Regions from separate parts of the Homo sapiens genome. Here region 2 is linked to region 1. Evidence: promoter capture Hi-C in 16 types of primary human blood cells and fetal thymus (Javierre and others, 2016). All regions are on one chromosome and are shown on one strand. Each heading gives the region's core, a stretch centred on a gene start or on the middle of the fragment in contact. The rest is flanking DNA. Distances are from core to core; before and after follow the strand shown.

Evidence for each region. The method cuts DNA at HindIII sites, captures the fragments that hold promoters and counts their contacts. A CHiCAGO score of 5 or more calls a contact.
Region 2: a contact is called between a fragment that was not itself captured here and the fragment with the promoter of ADAP1 in region 1, in 1 of 17 cell types (naive B cells). The highest score is 5.2, in naive B cells.

What each region holds. Positions count from the first base shown.
Region 1 is chr7:953,005-959,722 of GRCh38, reverse strand. ADAP1 (ArfGAP with dual PH domains 1) reads left to right here and starts at 5,043. Exons shown (of 11, transcript NM_006869.4): 1 at 5,043-5,327. The coding sequence starts at 5,246. LOC124901569 (a long non-coding RNA gene) reads right to left here and starts at 4,869. Exons shown (of 2, transcript XR_007060178.1): 1 at 4,459-4,869; 2 at 4,233-4,355. RefSeq lists silencers at 1,436-1,495, 4,737-4,836, 4,692-4,847, 4,867-5,356, 5,647-5,856 and enhancers at 4,150-4,759, 5,982-6,593. The HindIII fragment of the contact is 7,508 bases long and covers 1-6,718 here.
Region 2 is chr7:1,171,778-1,178,843 of GRCh38, reverse strand. No RefSeq gene overlaps it. Among named protein-coding and RNA genes, the nearest start is that of ZFAND2A-DT, 15 kb to the right of the region's middle. RefSeq lists a silencer at 1,631-1,680. The HindIII fragment of the contact is 246 bases long and covers 4,614-4,859 here.

The DNA of each region.
Region 1 (6,718 bases), core at 3,794-6,293:
AGATCATGCCACTGCACTCCAGCCTGGGTGACAGAGCGAGACTCTATCTCAAAAGAAAAAAAAAAAAAAGAGAAAAGGAAAGATGCTGCTGAGAACACTCGTGTCCAGGTGCGTGTGGACGTGTTTTCTGCCGTCCTCGGGCGCATACCGGGGAGTGGGTTTCCAGGGTCCCACGGTAGCTCCATGCCAGCCCGTTTTCCAGGGCGGCTGCACCGTCTTACACCCACCAGCGCTGTGGGAGGGGCCAGCTTCCCCCATCCTCACCGGCACTGTCTGTCTGTAAATCCTAGCCTCCCTCCACCGGCCCCCCGCCAGGTCTTCACTGCATCCTGGTGTGATTGGCATTTCCCTGACGACTAATGGTGCTGAATATTTCCGGTGCCTGTCGGCGGCTGTGTGTCTTCCTTGGGGACGCATGTGTTCAGATTCTTTGCCCTTTTTTTAATTGGTTCACTTGCCTTTTTATTACTGAGTTGTATGGGTTCTTTATAAGTAACTGTTTCTTGAGGCTGCACCAATTTGGGTGTGAACTTTGTAAACACTACTGCCCGATGGTCGCTGCGGAAAGGGGCCAGGGCTGGTGGGGGGAGAGCACCTCCCGGGGTCCCGCGTCGGGTCTGGGCCTCCTCCCCATGCCAAGTGCGTGATTCCGGCCCCCGAGGACCCTGCTGGTCCCAGGCCTCAAGAGATGGCACCTGGGGAGACCTGGGCCGTGACTGGAGTGGTCAGGCCAACGCCAGCTGCCCAGCGGGGGAGGAAAGGATGGGGGATGGCAGGACCCCTGCCCGGGCGCAGTGCCCAGCTCCATACCTGCCACCAGCCCGTCGGTTATGGGGATGGCTCTCCACGACCCCCTTCTCCACTCCAGACCCCATCTCTGTTTGGAAAACCAAGCAAAAGATATGTTCAAATGCCCCAAAACCCAGTAAGCCAACCTGTGCACCCACCTCCATGGCATGACATCTTGGGGAGGCCCCTGAGGACTCCCTGCTTCCAAAGGGGTTTCCGGGTCTAGCCCCACTCCCAGAAAATTGTGCTGAGACCACCTCTGGTCCTGGGTGGTTCCCCCTCCCCTGCATTTCGGGGCGCAGTGGCTATTTCTGGGGAATCCCCGTGTCTCCTTTAAGCCCCTCCTGAGCAGAGCTCTTTAGGATCCGTATGCTGCTGAACTCCTACTCCAGGTGCCCGAGGGGTGGCAGGGCCCTCACAGCAGTCAGAAGGCCCAGGAGGGTCTGCGCAGGGCCAAAGGCACGTCGCAGAGGACAGGGTGGAGGCCACAGCCAGTGGGCTTCCCTGGAGGGGGCCGGCCACATGGGGGCCCAACATCACGACCCCCATCCCCACAGCTGAGGCAGGTAGAGCCAGGAGCTGCCCACCCCTGCGCTGAGCCTGGATGTTGAAGACCCCTGCTTGGCCTGCAGGGCGGCCTACTGAGCTCACGGCCATCGTGCCAGACGCTGTCCAAGCGCAGATAATTTGACTGAATTAGCCCCGGCCCCTGTGCGGGGTGGAGAGGGAAGTGAACCTCCACAACCTCCCCTCCCCTGAGGCAGCTCCTGGTTGAGCAAGCTCGGCTGACTGTTGGGCAAGATGGTCGCAGAGCAGGGCCCAGCCCGGCCTCAGTCCATTTGCCCCTTCCCTGGGGAGAGCCCCCTTCTGCCTGTGCTGAGAGGCTCACCCCGCAGCTGCAGGCCTGGGAGGAGCCAGCTTCCAATCAAAGTCGCCTGCTGGCCTACCACGCGCAGGCCCCGTGCTCAGGCGACGCTGGAGGAGCTCGCCCTGCTCTCGGGAGCCCCCTGCCCAGGGTCTGCTGTGTGGCCGAGTGGTCACAGGAGGCGGCTGCCTCTGGCTCTGGACTAGGGAGATGCTTGAGGAATGAGTGTCAGGGTCCCTGGTGCAGCCGTGCGGGTCAGTGACAAGGGGCAGGAGGCTCAGCAGAGCTTGTAGGCCACTGGGCATGAGCAGGAGCAGGCACGCCGCCTGTCCAGGCCCCTCGCCAGCCGCTGCTGGCCGGAACAGCCTTTGACCAGCACTGGTCTGGGTCTGGCCCACCCTGAGCTATGCTGTTACCTTCCGGATTCTTCCTGAGTCCTGGGCTCCCCTACTGCCCCGCCCAGCCCTGACCACAGCCAGTCAGGGCAGCAGGATTTCAGGACGGCTGTGCTCTCGGGTCCAGGCAGGTACTTGCGGATCTCGGCCGAGCAGCCTCCTCTTTGGAAGAATCCCCCTCAGCCCCGACATCTCTTAGATCTGAGGGGTTCACCCACCTCTGTCTCATCCTCACGCCCTCCTGCCCCCCGAGCAATGCCACAGTTCCCTTAGCGGGATGGAAGGACAGAGAAGGCAAGACACTCGCCTGCTGGAGCTGCCCCACGGAGGAGGCCCCGGAACAGCAGGCAGTAGATGGCCTTGGCTTGTGCCAGAAGCTCTGGCCTGTTGGGCACCGGCTCCCCTGAGGCCTCCCTGCTGCCTTTTCTATGCCTTGTATGATGGCCTCCCCGTCTTTGGGGACCTTGGGTAACGGCTATGTTAGGGTGTGTTGCTTTGTTATATTGTTTTATGTATATTCCAGTCCTGAGGTGTGTGGCCTCCAGCAAGGGATCGAACCTCCCCGTGCCTCAGTCTTCCCAGCTGAAAATGGGGCTTTAATAAGAAAATACATGTCGGCCGGTCGCGGTGGCTCACGCCCATAATACCAGCACTTTGGGAGGCCTAGGCAGGCGGATCACGAGGTCAGGAGATCGAGAGCATCCTGGCTAACACGGTGAAACCCCGTCTCTACTAAAAATACAAAAAAATTAGCCGGGCGTGGTGGCATGCACCTGTGTCCCAGCTGCTGGGGAGGCTGAGGCAGGAGAATGGTGTGAACCCGGGAGGCGGAGCTTGCAGTGAGCCGAGATCGCACCACTGCACTCCAGCCTGGGTGACAGAGCAAGACTCTGTCTCAAAAAAAAAAAAAAGAAAAAAGAAAATACACGTCAAGCCAGGCGTGGTGGCTCAGGCCTGTAATCCCAGCACTTTCAGAGGCTAAGGCAGGCAGATCACGTGAAGTCAGGTGTTCGAGACCAGCCTGGGCAACATGGTGAAACCCTGTCTCTACCAAAAAATAAAAATATACCTGGGCATGGTGGCACCCATTTGTGGTCCCAGCTACTCAGGAGGCTGAGGCAGGAGAATCACCTGACCCCAGGAAGCAGAGGTTGCAGTGAGCTAAGATCGTGCCACTGCACTCCAGCCTGGGCGATAGACCAAAACCCTGTCTCAAAAAAAAAAAAAAAAAAAGGAAAAAAAGAAAAGAAAAGAAAAGAAAATAGAAAATACAAGTCAGGCTATTTCTCCTAATACCTAGTGCTGAGCTGCTGCTATTAATGTTCGTCTGTCTTTATTAGGCGACATTCTCCAAGCTCATGCTGTGTGGTGGATTCCGAGCCTGGCACAGGGACCCAGAGATGAAAATGCCACCTGTCCCCACCCCAAAGCCTCCCGTCTGAGGGAGGAGAAAGACCCATGTGAACGGTTACAGGGAAAGAGCACGTGATGCCACAGGGCACAGATCCCAGAGACACAGACCAAAACGGGCTGCCGCGTTCTGCTTCAGGTAGACAGAGCTTAAGCAGCTCCATGATTCCACGTCAGCTGGAGCAGGGGGACAGGTGCCTTTGGTGGCACTCTGGTCAGTGCAGCCTCAGTGGAGGCCATTCCACATCCCATACCATTGCCCCAGCGATGCCACTTTGAGAGCAAATCCACACAAAACTCTTGCAAAGATGAGGTTGTGTAGACCATGATTCTGATGCATTCAAAACGCTCTAAATGCCCCTATGCCAGTGACTGGGTGAACAAGTCATGGTTCAGTTGAACTTTTTTTGAGTTTGTTTGTTTGGTTTTTTTTTTTTTTTTTTTTTTTTGAAACGGAGTTTCACTCTTGTTGCCCAGGCTGGAGTGCAATGGCGCAATCTCGGCTCGCTGCAACCTCTGCCTGCCAGGTTCATGCGATTCTCCTGCCTCAGCCTCCCAAGTAGCTGGGATTGCAGGCATGCGCCACCACGCCTGGCTAATTTCTTTGTATTTAGTAGAGACGGGGTTTCACCATGTTGCCCAGGCTGGTCTCAAACTCCTGAGCTCAAGTGATCCACCCGCCAGGGTCTCCCAAAGTGCTGGGATTACAGCCGTTAGCCAAAACCCTGTCTCGATAAATGAATAAATAAATGAAAGGCTACAGGCCTCAGACGTTCGTTCTGGAAGGTGCTGAGGAATTTGTTAACAGTGGTTGCCTGGAAGGCAGTGGGGAGAGGCTTTCCTTTTTCAGTCTGGTATGTTCCAGTTTGTTTTCAGCCGGGTGTACTGCATTAACCCTGCAAGAAGAAAATGGAAAGAATTTGAAAAGATGCTGGGGTGTGCAGAGGAAGGGCACGCGAGTCTGGGAAGAGGTGACATCAAAACCAGGTTTTTTGTTACCTGTCAGCCCCCATGTGAAGTCCCGGCGGGGCCCCTCAGCCTGCCTGAGTGGGAGGGGTGCCCAGAGGGTCCCATCTGTGGGTGGTGGGCGGCTGGGTGGGTCTCAGGGGGAGGCTCCGTCTGGGCCCTGTGTGGCCTCAGTGCCCTGGGACGCTGGCGTTTGTCACCTGCTGGCCGTCCCTCCCAGGCAGGGATGGTGTGAGCGCCCTGGTCCTGGTCCGTAGCACAGGACACGCACACCTGCCTTCCACGAGCACCCCCATGCCCATGGTCTTGGGGGGCTCGGCAGGTGCCCTCTGCGCCCCCCACAGTAGGTGTGCAGGCTCCGTCCCACCGCGCGCGGCGGCACGAGGGTCCCACCCAGGCCGGCCAGGTTTTGGGGCGGCCTCGCGCCCAGGCAGGTGGGACGCTGCGCGCGGATGGGGGGCGGGCGGCGGGCGATTTCCCAGCGGGTCCCCGGGGCGCGCGGGCTGGGGGCGCCGGAGCGGCCGAGGGAGGAGGCCACACGCTCGCCTGCACCGCTGGGGGCCGCCCGCGGGCCTTGCCGGCCAGAGCGCAGCGTGCGCCCCGGGCCCCGCGCCGGCACTCGCTCAGCGACCGCGGCGGAGACACGAGCGGCGGCGGCGGAGCCCAGAGGGCGGCGGGAATGCGGAACCGGCGCGCGGGCTGAGGCCGCCCGGGATGGCGCAGGGGCGGCGGCGGCGGGCGGCCTGCGCGGGGCCCTAGCGAGCCGGGCTGACGCTCCCGGCCCCGGCCCCGGCATCGGCATCGCGGGCGCATCGCGGCCATGGCCAAGGAGCGGCGCAGGGCGGTCCTGGAGCTGCTGCAGCGGCCGGGGAACGCGCGCTGCGCGGACTGCGGCGCCCCGGGTAGGTGTGGGCCGGGTGGGCGCGGGGCCGGGTGGGTCCGGGGTGGGCGCGGGGTGCCGGGCGGGTCCTGGGTGGGCCCCGGGGACCGGGCGGGGGAGCGCGGACGCCGCGGGGGTGGCGGCGCTGAACACCGGGCCGGATCGGCGCTCGGATGGGGCCCGGGCCCGGCTGCACCTGCGGGGACCCGGACGTCTTCCCGGGCCGGGCGCAGCGGGGGGGCCCCCCCCAGGACCCCCGGAAACCCCCCTGCCGCCGCCTCCCCTCCCCCGCCGGGCTGCGTGTCTGACGGTCACCGCGGACCGCCCGCCGCGTTGCGAAAGCTCGGGCTCCGCACAGAAAGAGGAAATCGGGGCTGGCTGCAGGGAGGGAACGGGCCGCCAGCCGGAGGTCTCTGCTGGGCTGTGGGGTCCGCCGGCTCCGGGGCCACCTCGCGGTGACGTCATGCCTCACGCCCTTCCCGCACCGGGGGTCCCTGGGTGTGAGCGGCGCCCCTGCCCCCGGCTCCCTGCACCTGGCTGCTCCGGGGCGGGCGCCAGGACAGGTGAGGCCTGGGAGAGGTGGGGCCGGACGCAGGTCCTGGTCCACCCGCCGCCCGCCCGTTCGTTCTCCCGGCCGGGCATCCCTGACTCGGTTCCCAGGTCTGTGGGATTTCAAGGCACTGGAGTCCAAAGGCGCGGAGTCCCTCCCTTCCAGGCCACTGGTCCTGTCATTGGCTGTGAACGGGGCCCAGTGCCCAGACCAGCCCTGCCCTGCTCGGGAGCTGTCAGCCCCAGGCCGGCTGCGCTGTGGAGAGAGGGCCCCGCCGGAGCAGTCCCGCCACCCCAGGCACACCAGGAATCTGGGGGCCAATAGTCTAAGCCCCTCGGAACAAACCTAAACTCACCGGCGGTGACTGAGGCCCCCAGGGAGGGAGCGGGGGAAGACCTTGCATTTGCCTCCAAGGCCCTGGTTCAATATGCAGCCTCTGGACACCCCGGAAAAAGGGGTGTCCCTGATTCCCTCTGGGATGGAGGGGTCTCTGCCAGCCCCAGGTCGTGGTGGCTGCTGTCCAGCTGCAGCTTGGCTGGAAAGGCCACATCAGGAGCTGGGGTGTCCCAGAGGGGAGATAGCGACAGGCTTTTCTGGAAAGACAGGCAGGACCCACGGCCTTTCCATGGTCTCCTGAGACAGGACGGCCACAGGGCCCGTGCAATGGTGCGGTGGGGGTGGCCCCCTGGGCTGGCTCACCCCAGACTCTCTCCCCACAGACCTTTATTTCCTCCTGTTCAGGAACGCTCCCCAGGAAAGCCAGTGGGAAAGGGCCTGGCCTGGGGTTGCTGTGGCCCACGGGGAGGGGAGCTGGGCTTGCCTCTGAACCTCTGCTCCCTGGCCACACAGCCTGGGAGCAGCTT
Region 2 (7,066 bases), core at 3,487-5,986, 220 kb before region 1:
TTAACTCAAAAATGGATCATTACTTAAAATCACTTGATTATAAAATGCAAAGCTATAAAACTTCCGGAAGATTACATAGGAGAAAATCAAGGTAACCCTGGGTTTGGCAATGAGTTTTTATCATCTTTATTATTATTATTTGAGATGGAGTCTTGCTACATTACCCAGGCTGTTCTCCAACTCCTGGACTCAAGCAATCCTCCCTCCTCAGCCTCCCCAGTGGCTGGGACTGCAGGCACACGCCACCACGCCTGGCTTGGCAATGAATTTTTAGATACCACACCAAAAACATAATCTATAAAAGATTGATAAGTTGGACCTTATAAAGGGTATCAGATGCCAAAGAAGATATACAGAGGGCAAATAAGTATATGGAAAGATGCTCAACATCTTATGTCTTTAGGGAACTGCCAATGAAAACGACAATGTAGAAACCACCACACCGCTGTTAGAATGACCAAAATCCAGACACCGACATCACCAAATGCTGGTGAGGACGTGGAGCAACAGGAATTCTCATCATGGCTGTGAGAATGACACTTGGGTGTTTTCTTACGGATCTAAACATATTCTTGCCATCAGATCCGGCAATTGTGCCTCTTAGAATCTACCCAAATGAGTTGAAAACATATATTCACACAAAAACCTGCATGTGAATGTTTGTAGCAGTTTTATTCACCATTGTTCAAATTTGGAAGCAACCAAGGTGACCTTCAAGAGGGAAATGTTGAATGGATAAGCAAAGTGTGGCCCATCCGTCTGGGGAAATATTATCTGACAATAAAAAGAAATGAGGCCGGGTGCAGTGGCTCACACCTGTAACCCCAGCACTTTGTTAGACCAAGGCAGGTGGATCACATGAGGTTGGGAGTTCGAGACCAGTCTGGCCAATATGGTGAAACCCCATCTCTACTAAAAATACAAAAAATTAGCGGCGTGGTAGTGGGCACCTGTAATCTCAGCTACTTGGGAGACTGAGGCAGGAGAGTTGTTTGAACCTGGGAGGCAGAGGTTGCAGTGAGCCCAGATTGCACCCTGGTCACACCACTGCACCACTCCAGCCTGGCCTCGAAACAGTGAGACTCCGTCTCAAAAAAAAAAAAAAAAAGAAAAGAAAAGAAAAAGAAAAGAAATGATCTGGCTGGGTGCAGTGGCTCACACCTGTAATCCCAGCACTTTGGGAGGCTGAGGCAGGAGGATCATTTGAGCCCAGGAGTTCAAGACCAGCCTGGGCAACATAGCAAGACCCCATCTCTACAAAAACTAAAAAACAAAATTGGCTGGGCACGGTGGGGTGCACCTGTAATCCCAGCTACTCAGGAAGCAGAAGCAGGAGGGTCGTTTAAGGCCAGGAGTTCGAGGCTGCAGTGAGCTGTGATGATACCACTGCATTCCAGCCTGGGCAACAGAGCAAGATCCTGTCTCTAAAATTTAAAATTTTAAAAAAGAAGGCTCCAGGAAGTGGGCATCTAACAGGGAGATACCACATAAAGCTGGAAAGGGATGCTGGACACTTCAGGGACGGCTGGACGGGCGTCTAGGCTGCGGTTGATGCTCAGGGAGGAAAGCTTCCTCGTGCCCGGTAGGTCTTCTGGTCCCGACCAGCCGTCATTCCCGCAAACACCGCTGGAGGGCGCGCGTGGTAACTGGAAAACGCCCACATGGGTTCCTCGGTGTGACGAGCTGTAATGATGCCACTGCACTCCAGCCTGGGCAACAGAGCAAGATCCTGTCTCTACCATAAGAAAAAATTTAAAAAAAGAAGGCTCCGAGAAGTGGGCAGTTAACAGGGAGATACCACATACAGCGGGAAAACACAATAAAACCAAAACGCCAGCCAACCACGTTGCACAGGAGGGCCCAGGGGAATGCAACCTGGTATCAACAAGGAATGGGCTGGCCGGGGGCACCGGTGCTGTCAAGGGGCTCAGGAGTGTCTGTCCTCTGTAAGCCAGAGCAGACGATACAAGACGTGGTTCTAGAAAGGTTTCCCTAGTAGCAATGAAAATCATGGGACCCCAGAATAATTGGGGTCAGGTGGTAGTGCTGACTCATCAGAAGCCAGGTGGGTGGAATCCTTGCGAGGGCAGCAGGCTGAGTGGTGACGGGGAAGCGGGAGCTGCAGACGGCTATGAAGATGGTTCATAAAACGTGGTATTCCTAGGGGACAGACAGACAGCCAACAAGAATATTACTTAAAGATCGAACCAAGAGAAGTCAACAATGGATACCAGAGGGCGGCGGGAAGCCACTGCAAGGCAACGTCTCGGTGCTTTGCTTGGCTTCCTGACCTGAGCCAGCCTTTGACCTGTGACTCAGTGCCTGCAGGAAGACCTCCCCGAACCACAGCGCGTGCAAGCTGTCACGATGCGCCTGGGCCTTGCACGAGAGGACCCTACAGCCTCCCTCGAAGGAGATGCCGGACACTTCAGGGACGGCTGGACGGGGGTCTACGCTGCCGTTAATGCTTAGGGAGGAAACGCTCATGGTGCCCAGTGGGTCTTCTGGTCCCGACCAGCCGTCATTCCCGCAACCACCACTGGAGGGCGCGCGTGGTACCTGGAAAACGCCCACATGGGTTTCTCGGTGTCCCGGAAGCTGTCCTGGCGGACACGGCCACGCAGAAGCCTCTGAAACTGCAGCCCCTGCTGCCCCGGCTCCCCTTGCAAGATAAGAAATCAAAGCAATGATGTGTTCCTGGGAGACGGGCAGGGCTTTGAGCCAGCTGTAAAGATCCAGAGGTCCCCATCCCATGCCCGTTTAAATAATTATTCTGGCCCCTGCAAAAAAGCAAGACCAGTCATGAAATACGACCGAGGATGGTGCAGACCTCACCAAGTCAAAGCCCGAAACGGCTACAGGCACGGCGTCTTCCCCGGAGCAGGCACACGGCCTCAGGGATGCGACGTTGGCCGCTGAGCTGGAAAGGGCCTTTTCCCATCCCTGTCAGTACGGAGATCAGAAGCAGTTCCTGTTCACACGGAAGGACAAAAGCATGCGTTTAAAATTTTGTCCCGGCCGGGCGTGGTGGCTCACACCTGGAATCCCAGTGCTTTGGGAGGCCAAGGCGGGTGGATCGCTTGAACACAGGAGTTCAAGACCAGCCTGACCAACATGGCGAAACCCCATCTCTACAAAAACAATGACAGAAATTAGCTGGGCATGGTGGCTCACACCTGCTGACCCTCATGGCACTAGGGGTAGCTGGGGTGGGAAAAGACGTGTGTGGAATTCATGACAGCCCGACCAGAGAACACACTGTATTCCCAAGGCTCCACAGCAAGGCCAGGTGTCCCCTGCCCCATGTCCCCTGCAGCAGGGAACCGTCTGGCCCTGGCGGAGACGGAACAGGGCACTATCTGGCCAGGGGGCATGAAGCAACTATGTGGCAAGAGCTTCCCTTCTGAGCTGGACCCCGTCAGATCCAACAAGTCACAGGCCAGGCAGCCCAGCCGCAGGGCTCCGAGTGGAAGGGTCCATGGGACAGGCCCAAGCAGGTCCGAGTGCGGGGGGGACACCACCCTCCACTGCCACGCCAGTACCTTCTGCCCGTTCCCACCTGCGGTCATGGGAGGGGAACTTGGTGACCAGCAGACGGAGGAAGAACAGAGCCGCCCTTGGTTCGCAAGTGGGTTGGCTCAGTACTGAGCACCCACTGAAAGTGGATTGTTGCCACGTTACAGGCCCACTCAGAGGTGGCCCTGAAAGACACTGTGGACAGAAATCTCCGGGCCAGAGCCTCAGGCCACGCATCTGGCCGTCCACTCCTCTGTGTAGGAAGAACAGTGGCCCACGGTAAGAACACACACAGCCCACGGGCGGTGGCGGGTGGCGTGGCTCTTTTGTCAGGGGCCTGGAAGTGAGGTGGGAGCGGGGACTTGACTCCAGAGGCGGGGCTTGGACATTAGACCTAATTGAGGACTAGCTGAAACAGGGACAAGGCCCAGACGCGGCCGCTCACGCCTGTAATCTCAGCACTTTGGGAGGCCAAGGCAGGTGGGTCACCTGAGGTCAGGAGTTCGAGACCAGCCTGGCCAACGTGGTGAGACTCCGTCTCTACTAAAAATACAAAAATTAGCCAGGTGTGGTGACATGTGCCTGTAATCCCAGCTACTCAGGAGGCTGAGGCAGGAGAATCACTTGAACCCAGGAGGCGGAGGTTACAGTGAGCCGAGATTGTGCCACTGCCCTTCAGCCTGGGTGACAGAGCAAGACTGTTTCAAAAAAAAAAATTAATTTAAATTAAAAAAAATAAATTGGTGTGTGGAGTGGGGGTGCTCTCACCTCACTCTATTCACTGCATCTCCTGGCTGACACGCGTCCAGTCCAGCTAAAATCAGTACTTCCTAATGATAGCAGCCTGGTCTCCCCGTGCGCCCCTTACTTACGACACCCCAGAGAGCTGAGTAACTGCCAATTATTATTGCGGGGAAGGAGGTAAGAAACCTTAACTGTGTTCTATACCTTTACCCTGAAAGAGACTGTCAGGGAAAATGGGAAGGGATGGGGTCCTGTGCCTGTGGGACTCAATTTTAATGCTTGTGTGGATGTGGCACATCGGGCCCATCTCCCCCCCGGGTTCCTGGCCCTGGATGGATGGGGCTGGGGAAGCTTAGCGCTGCTTATCGAGCTCTGCTGCGGAAGCTGCAGCCACATAATTACTCATTTGCCTTGTTTGTGCCTGTCTTCACGGCACACTCTTCCCCTGGTTCTAGGGTCTGGTCACGTTTGCGAGTCTGTGTCGCTGGGTTCTTTATGTGCCCACTTAGCCACCCTGGCACCTGCCATCCTCTTTCCTGCTTAAACCTAACAGGAATGGATTTCCATCACGGGCGTTTCTAATGTGCTCTGAGCAAGCTTCTGGGAGGCGCCGAGACGTGCAGAGTGGATGGCTACTGATGTGGCAGGAGGAGGGGAAGCAGGAGGCACACTGGGGCCTATGTGTCCTTAGAGAAGAGACGGGGTTTACCGGGTGAGGTGGCTCACGCCTGCAATCCCAGCACTTTGGGAGGCCAAGGTGGGTGGATCACCCGAGGTCAGGAGTTCAAGACCAGCCTGGCCAACATGGCAAAACCCCGTCTCTACTAAAAATACAAAAATTAGCTGGGTGTGGTGGCAGATGCCTGTAATCCCAGCTACTCGGGAAGCTGAGGCAGGATAATCACTTGAACCCGGGAGGCGGAGGTTGCAGTGAGCTGAGATGACACCACTGCACTCCAGCCTGGGCGACAAGAGTGAGACTCCGTCTCAAAAAAACAAAAAAAAGAGAAGAGACAGGATTGAGCCCCATGTGTGAGAGCCAAGGATAGAGGAGATGGCGGCCTCAAGGCTGCCATGCAGTGGGCAACAGTGTGCTGTGACTGTGTGGATCCAGGGGACGGAATCTTCCACCCCCAGCTACCTGGACCATGCCATCCGAAGCCAGGGAGAATTCGGCCCCGGCAACCTGGCAGAGGGCAGCTGTCTCCTGCTGATGACGGACAGCCACAGAGTACACCCCACCCACCCTTGGGCGCCGCATGGCCAGCGGCAGCAGCTCTGTCAGATTTCATATCCGCAGTCCTCCATTGCGTTGCACTCGTGACTCAATGTTCAAAAGCTTTCGGCCAGCTCCATTCTGCCCTCTCTGGGATAATATAACAATCAGAGAAAAGGAGTTTGGCCTGCACGGGAGGCCCCAAGAGGAGCCGGGTTCAGGCCACGTGGCTTCCAGCGCCTGCGTCCGCTTGCCCATCAAAGAAAGGGTACAAAAGTGGGAGAGTCTGTGGTTTCCTCATCAGCTTAGACCAAAGCCGTGACAGGGGAGAACCCCAAACTGCTAATTAAATCCATTCAGTTTTGGGGGTGGGGGAAGAGTAAACTCCTTCTCTGTGAGCACCAGGCAGTGGGTTCTGATTCCCACGCAGGCCAGCCTGGTGCTGTGGGTGAGGGCAGCTACTGCTGGCTCCTGCCCCAGTCTCCTGCCAGCTGCTCAGACCCGGAATGTCAGGGACCTGGCACCCGCCACCCCGGGCTAGCACTGTCCTACACCCTAACACAGAATCCAGCCACCTAGCTGCCTGAACTCCAGCCAAGAGGGACCAGAGAGGACGGAAAGGCCGTCGGTACCTGGGCTTTGTCTACCTCGCCCCTAGATGACCACCTGAGTGAGTGGGAGGGGCTGGATGAGGAGCAGGGCCCCTCCCCGGGGGCAACAACCACCTGAGAGAGCGGGGATGGCCTGGACAGAGGGGGGGAACCCTCCGGGGGGTGATGAGCACCTGAGTGAGTGGGGAGGGGCTGGACAGGAGCGCAAAGCCTCCTGGAGGTGATGGACACCTGAGAGAGTGGGTAGAGGCTGGACAGGAGCAGTGGGGCCTCCTGGGGGTGATGAGCACCTGAGTGAGTAGGGGGAAGCTGGGCAGGGAGGGGGGCCCTCCTGGGGGTGATGAGCACCTGAGTGAGTGGGCAGGGGCTGGACAGGAGCGCAAAGCCTCCTGGAAGTGATGGACACCTGAGAGAGTGGGTAGAGGCTGGACAGGAGCAGTGGAGCCTCCTGGGGGTGATGAGCACCTGAGTGAGTGGGCAGGGGCTGGACAGGAGCGGCGGGGCCTCCTGGTAAGGTCCGTTGTGCTTTGCTTTCTGCCTGGCCTCAGCAGAAGAGTTTGGTAATTGATTGCTATAATGGTGGCTGTTTTTAGAGTTTCTGTTGCTGGCAAAAAAGGACACAGGGACCCTTTTCAAAGAATATTCCAGGGAGTAGCGGGAGCTTCGGGGATGCAGGGACATAGTGTGTCCGGAGGTGGTTCCTGCTGGTGGGTTCGTTGTCTCCCTGACTTCGATAATGGAGCTAGGGACCTTCGCGGTGAGTGTTAACAGCTCTTAAAGATGGCACGGACCCAAAAAGTGAACAGTAGCAAGGTTTATTGTGAAGAGAGAAAGGATAAAGCTTTCACAGCATAGACGAGGACCCGAACACGTTGCCACTGCTGGCTAGAGGTGGGGGGGGGGGGCGGGGGTGGTTGGTGGCAGCCAGCTTTTATTCCCTTATTGGCCCCGCCCATGTTCCATTTCTGTCCTATCAGAG